2 separate regions of the Homo sapiens genome follow, and region 2 is linked to region 1. The links are contacts of gene promoters, found by promoter capture Hi-C in blood cells and fetal thymus (Javierre and others, 2016). All regions are on one chromosome and are shown on one strand. Each heading gives the region's core, a stretch centred on a gene start or on the middle of the fragment in contact. The rest is flanking DNA. Distances are from core to core; before and after follow the strand shown.

The links. Contacts are between HindIII fragments. The CHiCAGO score rates a contact against its expected background, and 5 or more counts as called.
Region 2: a contact is called between a fragment that was not itself captured here and the fragment with the promoter of PABPC5 in region 1, in 1 of 17 cell types (total CD4 T cells). The highest score is 6.8, in total CD4 T cells.

Annotation. Positions count from the first base shown.
Region 1 is chrX:91,433,260-91,436,140 of GRCh38, forward strand. It overlaps PABPC5 (poly(A) binding protein cytoplasmic 5), which reads left to right and starts at 1,580. Exons shown (of 2, transcript NM_080832.3): 1 at 1,580-1,635; 2 at 2,176-2,881. The coding sequence starts at 2,319. It overlaps PABPC5-AS1 (PABPC5 antisense RNA 1), which reads right to left and starts at 1,740. Exons shown (of 4, transcript NR_110659.1): 1 at 1,644-1,740. The HindIII fragment of the contact is 4,445 bases long and covers 1,067-2,881 here.
Region 2 is chrX:91,370,526-91,373,435 of GRCh38, forward strand. No RefSeq gene overlaps it. Among named protein-coding and RNA genes, the nearest start is that of PABPC5, 63 kb to the right of the region's middle. The HindIII fragment of the contact is 1,589 bases long and covers 557-2,145 here.

The DNA of each region.
Region 1 (2,881 bases), core at 330-2,829:
GAAAATATGTTTATAAAAATATATTCAAAATGCAATAAACTAGGCAGATGTTCACAAGTGTTTCCACATGTTGGTCACTCTGGTCACACTGTAAAACCCATTTATTAGTCTATAATATCATTGTTCATATTTGCCTTTTCTCAAAATCTCCATGTCTTAGTTAACCAAGAACACTAGAAAGCAAGCAAAAAAAAAAAATAGTAAAGAAAATTACTAAGTTTTTGAGTAAATAATGAGGTTTAATGTCAACTCTACAGTCTAATAGACACTATAAAATGTATAAAGTGAATGAATACGTTAATTTAGCCTCTTATTCTGAGGACTTATTAGGAAAACACCCACTAAGGTAATGTCCTTCTCTTGCAATCTTTTTTTCCCAGGATCTTTTCCAGCCTAAGAGTAGTGATAGATGTTTTGTTTGGATTTTTCTGGAGGGGTAGGAATTGTGGAAGGAGCCTCTTGAAGTGTTGTTTGCGCATGCTAGATATCAGTGAATTTCTGAAAACACGGTCAAAATTTCTCTCCAAAAGGGTTTCTCAAATACTCTGAAGAGAGATATTGTTGAGAAACTGCTGAGTTGAGTCCAGTCTGATGGCACTGTTTCCTTCAAGGGTTTCAAGTTGACAACTCATGATGAAATTCATAATTGTGTAAAGTGCATATATCTTAACATGTTTATTTCATCTGTAAATATTAATTACATATTTTGTATTGATTCTGTGGCTTTTATCTCTTTAACTGAGATTTTGTAACTGTAATTCTCGCGGCAGCTCAACAGTTTCAACGTTTTGTGGCACTAAACACCATCAAAAGCCATTATATGGCTCTCCAATCATTAAAACCTTAGTATTATGGGATCAGAGAAAAGATCTCTTTGCCTACCACCTGAGGAAAATATTACCATTATGTTGGAGATTAATGAAGTAAGGCTAAAGGCCAAAGGCAACATGGTCCTGTGTTCTACTTGACCCTGTGATCCTTTAGCACTGGATTGGGAGGCCAGGACATTTGTAAACTTTGACTTTCCAATGCACTCAGGAAAGTATGCAACCTATCCTTTTCCCTAAGCTTAAATGATTTTGATAATTAGTTTTTTAAAACTTATTATTTTTGCCCAGGTCGTCATCTTCTTATGTGATTTTTAGATGTTCGGCTTAAATATAGTGTTTTAAATAATAAATAACATTTAAAATATAAGAAACATCTAAAAGCCATCTTAGATTTTTCTTTCTCTCCTTCTCTCTCTCTCTCTCATTCTCTCCCCTTCTCTCTCTCTCTCTCTCTCTCTCTCTCTCTCCCCCCTTCTCTCTCTCTCTTTTTTTTTAAATCTTGGTACAGAGGAAGCGGGAAGTTACTTAGCACGGTTCCGGGTTTCTCGCGCCCCGCCTGTCCCCCCTCCCTATCACTGCTACTGGCTCTTGGTCCCTCCGTTGGACTGTCCTGCGGAGAGAAACCCCAGCCCATCGGTCTGCGCTGGGACCGCCCGCCGCGCATCTGCCCTTCTTCGCTGACTCCGCCCCGCATCTGGCCAGACCCGCCTCGCGTCAGAGCTGACCCACTCACTGCGCGTTTGCCAGTCAGTCTCTCCGGACCTGCCTCGAGCCTCAGGCTGCTGAAATCACCGCGCCTCACTCGGTCCGTACCCAGTGGGCATCTTGGGTATCTGGGCGGTCTTCGATCCCCCGCGCGTGTGTCTGTCTGTCTGTCTCTGTGTCCTATCCGCTGCCTGCAGCCTGCCTGCCGGTCTTATCGCACCAAGTGTCTGGTGTACCCTTTCGCAGACGCTGAGTGCGGAGAGGCCTTAGCGAAAGGCTAGCCAGCCCGAGACTGGCCAGGCAGCCGGCGGAGGAATACGCGCTCGGTCCCTGCCCTTGTTGATATCATTTTAAACCAACAGGAGCTCTAGGCCTATATTTATGCAGAAAGCGGGTCGGGAGGCCTCTGTCTGCAATGCTAGTTGTGGGGAACCAGCCAGCTGCTTGGTGGCTTCTCACAATTTCACGGGGACAGGAAAATTACGTTTCTGGTACTGGCTTTTGAAACTGATTTTAAATCTGAACGGGTGACAATTTTAAGTCCCCGCAGGGAGAATAGATTCGTATTTGGGGCGCCTTTTTGTCTGATGTGTTTGTTCTGAGCCTGCTGACCAGCTGTTTCTGAACTTCATTTTCTCAGCCTCGACAGTGATTCTGAGTCTGCTTTTAGCTTCCTTTTGCCTGCCTTGGCTTTTTCTGTTCGTGAACAGCTGTTTGGCCCATAGCTTAGAGAAAGCAGCCTTTTTTCTCTTCAAAGAGAACCTCCTCCCAGTGCTCAGAGAGATGGGGAGCGGGGAGCCTAATCCTGCTGGCAAGAAAAAGAAGTATCTCAAGGCCGCTCTGTACGTGGGTGACTTGGACCCAGATGTCACCGAGGACATGCTCTATAAGAAGTTCAGGCCTGCTGGCCCTCTGCGATTCACCCGAATCTGCCGTGATCCGGTGACCCGCAGCCCCCTGGGCTATGGGTATGTTAACTTCCGCTTTCCCGCGGATGCAGAGTGGGCCTTGAACACCATGAATTTTGATTTGATTAATGGAAAACCATTCCGCCTTATGTGGTCTCAGCCAGATGACCGCTTAAGAAAGTCTGGAGTGGGAAATATATTCATCAAAAACCTGGACAAATCCATAGACAATAGGGCCCTGTTTTACTTATTTTCTGCTTTTGGGAACATTCTGTCCTGCAAAGTCGTATGCGATGACAACGGCTCTAAGGGTTATGCCTATGTTCACTTTGACAGCCTGGCCGCTGCCAATAGAGCCATCTGGCACATGAATGGAGTGCGGCTCAACAACCGCCAGGTGTATGTTGGCAGATTCAAATTCCCAGAAGAGCGGGCGGC
Region 2 (2,910 bases), core at 101-2,600, 63 kb before region 1:
AGAAAGTGTTCCCTCAGTTTCCATCTTCTGGACAAGATTACAGGGAATTGGCACAATTTCATCCTTAAATGGTTGGTAGAGTTCTACAGTAAACTCATCTGGTCTGGTGCTTTCTGTTTTAGAGAGTTATTAATTAGTGATGTAATTTCTTTAATAAAGGAATATATAGATTATCTTTTTCCTTTTGTGCTAGCTGTATAGATTGTAACTTTCAAGGAATTTTTAAAATTAAATCTAAATCATCAAATTTTTAAGTGTGCAGTTATTAATAATATTCATTTACTGCCCTTTTAATGTTCATTGGAGTCAGTAATGATGGAGCGTTTATCATTTCAGAGGTTAATACTAATTTGTATTTCCTCTATTTTTTCTTGATTAGCCTAGCTAGAGGTTTATCAATTTTATTGATCTTCTGAAAGAACCAGCTTTTGATTTTATTATTTTTCTTTACTGTTTTCTTGTTTCAATTTCATTGAATTCTACTCTAAATTTTACTTTTTTCTTCTCTTTGCTTTCAGTTTATGTTGTTTTTCTTTCTACAGTATCCTGAAAAGGAAGCTTATACCATTCATTTTAGGTTTTTCTTTTTTTCTAATATACGAATTCAATGCTATAAGTTTTGTGTTAATCATTGCTATCACTGAATCTCACATATTTTAATAAGTTGTGTTTTCATTTTCATTCAGTTCAAAATATTTTTAAAATTTCTCTTGAGACTTCTTCGACCAATCTGCTATTTAGAAGTTTATTGTTTAATTTATAATTCTAAAAAATTTTCTAGCTATCTTTCAGTTACTTTTTCTAGTTTAATTCCATTGTGATATGATTTGCGTTTGTTTGGTTGGTTGCCCAAAATATGAACCCAAAGGAGGCTCAAAGTGAGTGAATTGGAAATTGTCCACCTGCTTCGGCTCAATGTAGAGAAAAGTATTTAAAGGCTTAGAGAGTCTGGAATATTAGAGTAGATTTGTCTACTCTAATATTAAGACTTAATTATTCACACTGGGACGGTCCAGGAGATGTACCTTTCACCAAAACTGAGAAAAAATAAATCGATTACAGGAAGTCCCAGGATCCCTGAAGAATTTTGATCACTCTTCTCTGTAGGCCAGATCTTACAGAGGATAATGCAGTAACTGAATTGGGAAACTTAGATGCAATGGAAGTAATTGGATAGCAGTGTGGCAGGAGGCAAGTGGCAGCACCAAACTGCCAAAGGCAAGGTAGGTATGTTTAACATAATAAAGAACACGACTACCCTGCCCCTACCTGAACACTTACTTTGGAGGTGGCTCTGCAGTTCTGTGAGGAGGAAATCTCAGAGACTACCCACAACCATTTCACCATTGCAACTGCAGTAGTGCCACCCTGATGCCGTAGGGCTGTGGAAGGAACAAAGGGACTAGTCACTAACTTGACACATCCAGCACACCACAGTCACCACACAGAAACAAATCCAGTCCCTCTTCTCTGTGAGCCCCCATCTCCCACTCATCAACAGACAGCGCCCCTGGCTCAGGAATACAGATCAGCCATCTAACCCACGGCTGAGCACAACCACTGGTAGTGGCTTTGGGTTTCCCTGGGAAGGGGCTCCCACAGGTAACTGACAGCCCCTCTGCCACTGCAACAGCAGTGATTCTGCCCCTGCTGCCCTTGGTCAGGTGAGGAAATAAAGATCCTGAAGACCTCACCCACACACCACACACCCAGTCACCATATAAAGAGGAACTCAGTTTCACCTCCCTGTAAGCCACTGAACCCCTGCTCCTCAACAAGCAGAGCCATCAGCTCAGGCCAGCAGTGTGGCCACCACAACCCTTGGCTGAACATTCGCAGTAGTGGCAACTCCAAGTTTCTCTGAGGTGTAGCCCCCAGAGGCAACTGAAAGCCCCTTTCCCACTGCCACTGCAGGTGTACTGTCCTTGCTGCCCTCGGAATAGAGAAGGGTCGAGGACTCTGGATAGGTTAACAGCACCTCCAGAAAGCTGCAGTTGTCTTAAGAGGCCAGTCTGTCTCCCCAGTGACCCACCCAAACCCCTGCTCATTACCAGTCAGGGCTCCCTGGTTTGGGCTCACAGAACAGCTGCCCCATTCCAGCCTGACTGAACTGATTGATAGCAGCCCTGCATCTTTGTCATGTGAAGCTTCCAGAGACAAGTGAAAGGCCCACTGCCATAACCATCGCTAAGTTCCCTTCCCCTGCTGCCTCCATGCTGAAGAGGAAATATAAATCCCGAGCTTGCTTCCAGACCTGTGGTATGCTGCCTTGGAGTGCCAAGCCAACATCTGCAGCCAGCACTCAAGAGGGAGAAGATTCCACACTTTCAAAGCACTGAGAGGGAGAATGACTGAAATCATGAGGAAACACAGAGGACCCCGTGGATGAGCAAGAAGCTACCTACTTGCCATTACACATAAGCACCAACTATTGGATCACAGATCAAAACTTCAGCACCAAAAGCACTTTCCTAATATAGGCCCTGTGAAACAAGGACAAAAATTCAGCTAAAATTAAAGACCCCACACAAAGCCTTCACCCTCTGAAAACATCCAGAAAATAAGTCTACTGGCTGTACTCAAATTACACCAAAGGTAAAAGAACAACAGCCTACATAGATGACAAAGAACCAGAAAAAGAAATCTGGCACCTGAAAAAGCCACAGTGGTTTCTTTCCACTAAATTAGTGCACTAGTTCCCTAGCAAGGGTTCTTAAATGGGCTGAAATGGCTGAAAAAAAAAAAAGAACTAGAATACACAATATGGATAGGAACAAAAATCACTGAGATTCAGGAGAAAGTTGACACCCTATCCAAGGAATCTATGATTACAATAAAATGATAAATGATACGATAGACAAAATAGCCATTATAAAAAAAGAAACTAAACTGATCTGATAAAGCTGAAAA